2 separate regions of the Homo sapiens genome follow, and region 1 is linked to region 2. The links are contacts of gene promoters, found by promoter capture Hi-C in human tissues and cell types (Jung and others, 2019). All regions are on one chromosome and are shown on one strand. The core of a region is centred on a gene start or on the middle of the fragment in contact, and the rest is flanking DNA. Distances in the headings are between cores, read along the strand shown.

Evidence for each region. The method cuts DNA at HindIII sites, captures the fragments that hold promoters and counts their contacts. A contact is called where the count stands out against the background at its distance.
Region 1: a contact is called between the fragment with the promoter of C1orf56 here and the fragment with the promoter of CTSK in region 2, in 1 of the 25 tissues and cell types used here (adrenal gland).

The regions. Positions count from the first base shown.
Region 1 is chr1:151,046,301-151,049,000 of GRCh38, forward strand. It overlaps C1orf56 (chromosome 1 open reading frame 56), which reads left to right and starts at 1,451. Exons shown (of 2, transcript NM_017860.5): 1 at 1,451-2,552. The coding sequence starts at 1,548. BNIPL (BCL2 interacting protein like) reads left to right here. Exons shown (of 10, transcript NM_138278.4): 10 at 351-1,420. The coding sequence ends at 387. RefSeq lists enhancers at 1,779-1,828, 2,109-2,348. The HindIII fragment of the contact is 7,874 bases long and covers 1-2,700 here.
Region 2 is chr1:150,806,350-150,809,509 of GRCh38, forward strand. It overlaps CTSK (cathepsin K), which reads right to left and starts at 1,911. Exons shown (of 8, transcript NM_000396.4): 1 at 1,865-1,911; 2 at 337-457. The coding sequence starts at 456. The HindIII fragment of the contact is 16,762 bases long and covers 1-3,129 here.

The DNA of each region.
Region 1 (2,700 bases), core at 201-2,700, 240 kb after region 2:
GGAAACTGCACACACCCAGAGAAGAAATGAAGGACACTACTGCATCCAACAAGAATAAATGAAAAAAAAAAAAAACCTATACATATAAGTGCAGAGGCAATAAGGAATAAAGGAATAATCACAGTGCAGAGGAGATTCAGACTGGCCCTAGAAATTAGGAAGAGATGTGTTGGCAGTGAACAGATGATATCCAGTGGGGGAGAGGGTGTTAGGGAGCAAAAGTGCTAAATGATGACTCAACCCAATCATCTAGCTCTTCCAATTCACCTGGCTTCTCTCCCCAAACCAGAAAATAAAACCCAAGTCCTACCCCCTGAACCACTTCTCTCCTCCCCCTCTCCCTCTCCTAGGCTGGACCGGGATCTCCATGGCTCAGGAGGGACATAGCACAGGACTGGATAAAAGGCCTTAGAACCAGTTAGTGATCTGCCTACACCTGAATCCCTGAAACATCTGAACTGTTTTGTAAATCATCTTATCCCCAACCTCAGTACCACCGGATCTTCACTTCTCAGTGGGATTTTGTCCTTTGCATGACCCTACTTTCAGCAGGGCTTTGAGGCTGGGAAACTGATCTGCTGGGTGACTTTCATTCCAGTTGCTGGGACGGAAGGCTGAATGTAGGGTCATTTTGTATGGGATATGCAGAGCTCTGGGTTTTTTTGTTTTTTGTTTTTTGAGACGGAGTCTCGCTCTGTCGCCAGGCTGGAGTGCAGTGGTGCGATCTCGGCTCACTGCAACCTCCGCCTCCCGGTTCAAGCCATTCTTCTGCCTCAGCCTCAGCGAGTAGCTGAGACTACCGGCGCACGCCACCACGCCCAGCTAATTGTTTTGTATTTTTAGTAGAGACGGGGTTTCACCATGTTGGCCAGGATGGTCTCGATCTCTTGACCTCGTGATCTGCCCGCCTCGGCCTCCCAAAGTGCCGAGATTACAGGTGTGAGCCACCGCGCTCGGCCAGAGCTCTGGGTTTTAATCCTACTTTAGCTGTAGAACCTTGGGCAAATAACTTCATCTTTTTGGGTCCTAATTTTCCTCCTGTCTAACTGGAGGGACTGTGATCCTTCCACCTTGGATGGAAGAGGCTTACCTGACAGCCAGCCTGCCTGCTGGGAGCCAGGAGAGTCAGCTCATTAAATCTTGAAGAACCGCTGTATGCCCTTTTTCCTTCTAAGTCATGTCTGCTGCCTGTGAGCCTGGGAAGGAGTGCTTTCAAAACCTGTATTTTTGCCCTCTTTAGTAAATTTAGAACTGTAGAGGCTAATAAACTGCGATGAGACATTTAAGCTCTGCTCCAAAGAAGTGAACGACTCTTTCACCACCCCTTGCATCCCAAACCTTCGGTTCTGGCAGAGTTCTTGCCGCAGAGGTTCCTTAGGAGCACCCCGCGCGGCCCGCGCGAGCGCGCCTGCGCGTCGAACCCCACCCCCTTCCCCGCGGGCCTCGGTTCAAACGACCCGGTGGGTCTACAGCGGAAGGGAGGGAGCGAAGGTAGGAGGCAGGGCTTGCCTCACTGGCCACCCTCCCAACCCCAAGAGCCCAGCCCCATGGTCCCCGCCGCCGGCGCGCTGCTGTGGGTCCTGCTGCTGAATCTGGGTCCCCGGGCGGCGGGGGCCCAAGGCCTGACCCAGACTCCGACCGAAATGCAGCGGGTCAGTTTACGCTTTGGGGGCCCCATGACCCGCAGCTACCGGAGCACCGCCCGGACTGGTCTTCCCCGGAAGACAAGGATAATCCTAGAGGACGAGAATGATGCCATGGCCGACGCCGACCGCCTGGCTGGACCAGCGGCTGCCGAGCTCTTGGCCGCCACGGTGTCCACCGGCTTTAGCCGGTCGTCCGCCATTAACGAGGAGGATGGGTCTTCAGAAGAGGGGGTTGTGATTAATGCCGGAAAGGATAGCACCAGCAGAGAGCTTCCCAGTGCGACTCCCAATACAGCGGGGAGTTCCAGCACGAGGTTTATAGCCAATAGTCAGGAGCCTGAAATCAGGCTGACTTCAAGCCTGCCGCGCTCCCCCGGGAGGTCTACTGAGGACCTGCCAGGCTCGCAGGCCACCCTGAGCCAGTGGTCCACACCTGGGTCTACCCCGAGCCGGTGGCCGTCACCCTCACCCACAGCCATGCCATCTCCTGAGGATCTGCGGCTGGTGCTGATGCCCTGGGGCCCGTGGCACTGCCACTGCAAGTCGGGCACCATGAGCCGGAGCCGGTCTGGGAAGCTGCACGGCCTTTCCGGGCGCCTTCGAGTTGGGGCGCTGAGCCAGCTCCGCACGGAGCACAAGCCTTGCACCTATCAACAATGTCCCTGCAACCGACTTCGGGAAGAGTGCCCCCTGGACACAAGTCTCTGTACTGACACCAACTGTGCCTCTCAGAGCACCACCAGTACCAGGACCACCACTACCCCCTTCCCCACCATCCACCTCAGAAGCAGTCCCAGCCTGCCACCCGCCAGCCCCTGCCCAGCCCTGGCTTTTTGGAAACGGGTCAGGATTGGCCTGGAGGATATTTGGAATAGCCTCTCTTCAGTGTTCACAGAGATGCAACCAGTAAGTGTTTGGTGATGAGCCAGGGTCTTTGTTGACGGATCTGAAAAGTCCTGGTATCTAAAACCCAGTTGCTAAGCCAGCCAGTGTTGCTTACATGAACTGTTACTGACTTACCTGGTTATTGATTCATAACATGCATTGGTTATTC
Region 2 (3,160 bases), core at 661-3,160:
CCATGGAATTAAGAGCCTGCAAGAAGAGATAATATGTAAACAAATACAACACAAAGCTCTGGAGAGACAGAAAAATTGCTTATAGATTAACAGCATTAATCTTAGAACTCTTCCCAAAAGAGAAATGTAACACACTTATAAAGCAAAGGAAGGATACAGTTTGACAGAGGATGATTTGAAGCATAGGAATGAAAACCGTATGTTAACATGAGTTAGGGAAGAGGGACTGATTTGCTTGGAATAAAGCATTTGGATTGAAGAAGGGAGTCTGGAAGCTAAGATGAGAGAGCTCAGGTCTCAGCCTTCCTGCCATGCCCCCTCCAGGACCCCAGGCACCTTGTTGTTATATTGCTTCCTGTGGGTCTTCTTCCATAGCTCCCAGTGGGTGTCCAGTATCTCCTCAGGGTACAGAGCAAAGCTCACCACAGGTAGCAGCAGAACCTTGAGCCCCCACATCCTGCAGAAGAATGTAGTTAGGGAAAACTCTTCCATTTGGCAGGGAAACAGAGGAAAACTAGGCTTTATGAGGAAGAGAAAGGTAGACGGAAAAAGGGTGATAAAACAATGATAGTCAGGAGGGGCCTGTGTTTAGATAGGATGCTGGTACATCTGGTTCCAAGGACTTTGATCTAGGGGGATTTAGCCATTTCTCTCTTTCTCTCTCTCTCTCTCTCTCGGGAGATTTAGGCAACACACACTCTCTCTGTTTCTCTCTCTGTCTCTCTCTCTCTCACACACACACACACACACACACACACACACACACACACACACACGTACACAACCAGAAATGGGGGATAGAAACTGGACAATCAGAATGGGCTCAGTGCGTTTCCTCCAGGGTCCCTAGCAGGCTTGGAGACAGACAAATAGCAAGGTGGTAGTGGGGTTCAGAATACACAAAGGAGAGATTTCCGTCTAAGTTTTGCCTCCTGATCATTTCTTCGAGGCGTTCTTCTCTTTCGTGCCTAAATTCTGGTACTTTCCCAGATCTTGTCAGAAGAGGACAAGGGAAAATAGGACAATGTTTCCTGTTTTCTGAGACATTGTATATCTCCTCATTCTCCTTATGCATTTCTTCTTCCTTTTTCTCTCCCTTCCCTCCTTAGGCAGGAAACTGCCCTAATCTTAACCAGATGCTGCGGGCAAGGTTTTTTATTTTTCCCCTAACAACAAAAACCCACTGTGGCTGCCGCAAAGGACAAGAAGCCTCAGATCCAAGGTTTGTTAGAAGAATGTTCAGACTGAAAAGCAATGTTCTATGATGATGAAATTCACAGCTTTTCATAAGTTTACTCTAGTTAGCTTCACTCATTTCTTGCATTGGCTTTCTTAATTACAAATCCTCCATTTTAAGAACAATTTGCAGCCTGCAGCATGACATATGGCTTACACAATTGCTTATAGTCCATTTACATGTAATTTTGCAAACTGGCAAAATGTCCAGTAGGACATTTAAAAACTAGAGTGTTAAGGGCTTTGAGATGTCTCAGTGAACAGGAAGCACTGAGCTACTACCTCCCCATACCACTCTCCTCCTCCTCACTAAGGAGTTAACCGTTTTGATCCTTGTTGGCCAAAGTAGAAAACACTGCAGAAAGGCCACTCTTGAAGGATGGGGAAATGATTCCCTATATACTTTGCTTTTACTAACAATCATGTATGTATATATATAAATCATACAAGGAATTCTACAGATTTCCAGGCAGATTTTATTTAGCCAGGGAATGACCTAAGAAGTGCATCTCTGTTTTCATCTGCAGAGGCTAAAAGTTTATTGTGATCCTCAAGTCACTACATCCCTAATACTCAGAGAATTGACAGGAATGAAAAGCTAAAAGATCTAGGAAGTTGCAAACGTTACCTGCTGATGGAAATCTGTTGTCTGGCTTCGTTTCGGCAGCAAAGTGTGGGCACACCATCAGGGGTGCTAGATTTATTCCATCGGGATTGCGGAAGTCAGCTCCAGTGATCGGCTGGAAAATTTGGGTAAGAGGAGGAGGCGGGGATAGAAATGCTGAGAGAAGGAAGGGTAGGGAGGAGGGAAGGAGGCAGTGGATTTGCAGTGTTTCTGTGTGTATGCAGCATGTGTGCCAGGGTAGGGAATTACTAGCTATTTAGTCTCACAAGACTGTCTTTGGTGGCAAATAACAAGACCTCAATATCTATTGACTCAAATAGGAGCTTACTTTCTCTTTTGGTGAGTAAAAGGAAGGACACAGCCCTAGTCTCTCCCATCCTTCTTCTTCAATATCTTTATTTTAATATTGGGGGATTATATCTTTTCCTACCCCTTTCCTGTTAGGATTTACCTCTCCAACATTGAAACCTATTTTCATATTTGTGTCTGACTCTCACCTCTGGGATGCGGTAATGAACATAAAAGGCTATAAAAGAATAATGTAATGGAAGCCATAGGCTCCAGAATTCTTTGTATTTTTATAAGCTTGTTGGTTGCAAGTTGTCATTACTTCCAGGCAGAATAGTTTTCCCAGCCTAATGTGGTTTTGCTGAAGGAGGATATGCCCAGAAAGTCCAGATGAAACTGTCTTTAAAAGTAACCAAAAACAGCAGTCCTGGTTATTTATGACAGCACTTGAATCAATGCCGTAAGTTCTGATGGACTCACATGTGACTCTGTTGCTAAAACTCTCAGGTGGTGGGATGCCCGATAAACATCATCTGTCTCAATTAAAATCCCCAATCTAGGACAAGTCACATGAGCTTCTCCAAATGCTTCCCCAACATCCAAGCATGTGACAGATCATAAGAATCTAGCTGATTCCTCAAACCACACCCCAAACTTCATTTTCTTCCATAAACAGATGTGGGGAAGGAGAAAAAAAGGCTTCTTGGAATAGAAAGGATAATAAATGGGATCTGTAATAGACTCAGTTTCTAGCTGGATTCCATGCATAAACCCTCAAAAATACAGGCTTATGCCTCTGGATTTTAAGAGCTGCTAACAGGCTAGGCGCAGTGGTTCACGCCTGTAATCCCAGGCCTTTGGGAGGCCAAAGCATGTGGATCACCTAAGGTCAGGAGTTCGAGACTAGCCTGGCCAACATATAGTGAAACCCCATCTCTACTAAAAAAAAAAAACACAAAAATTAGCTGGGCATGGTGGCACACACCTGTAGTGCCAGCTACTTGGGAAGCT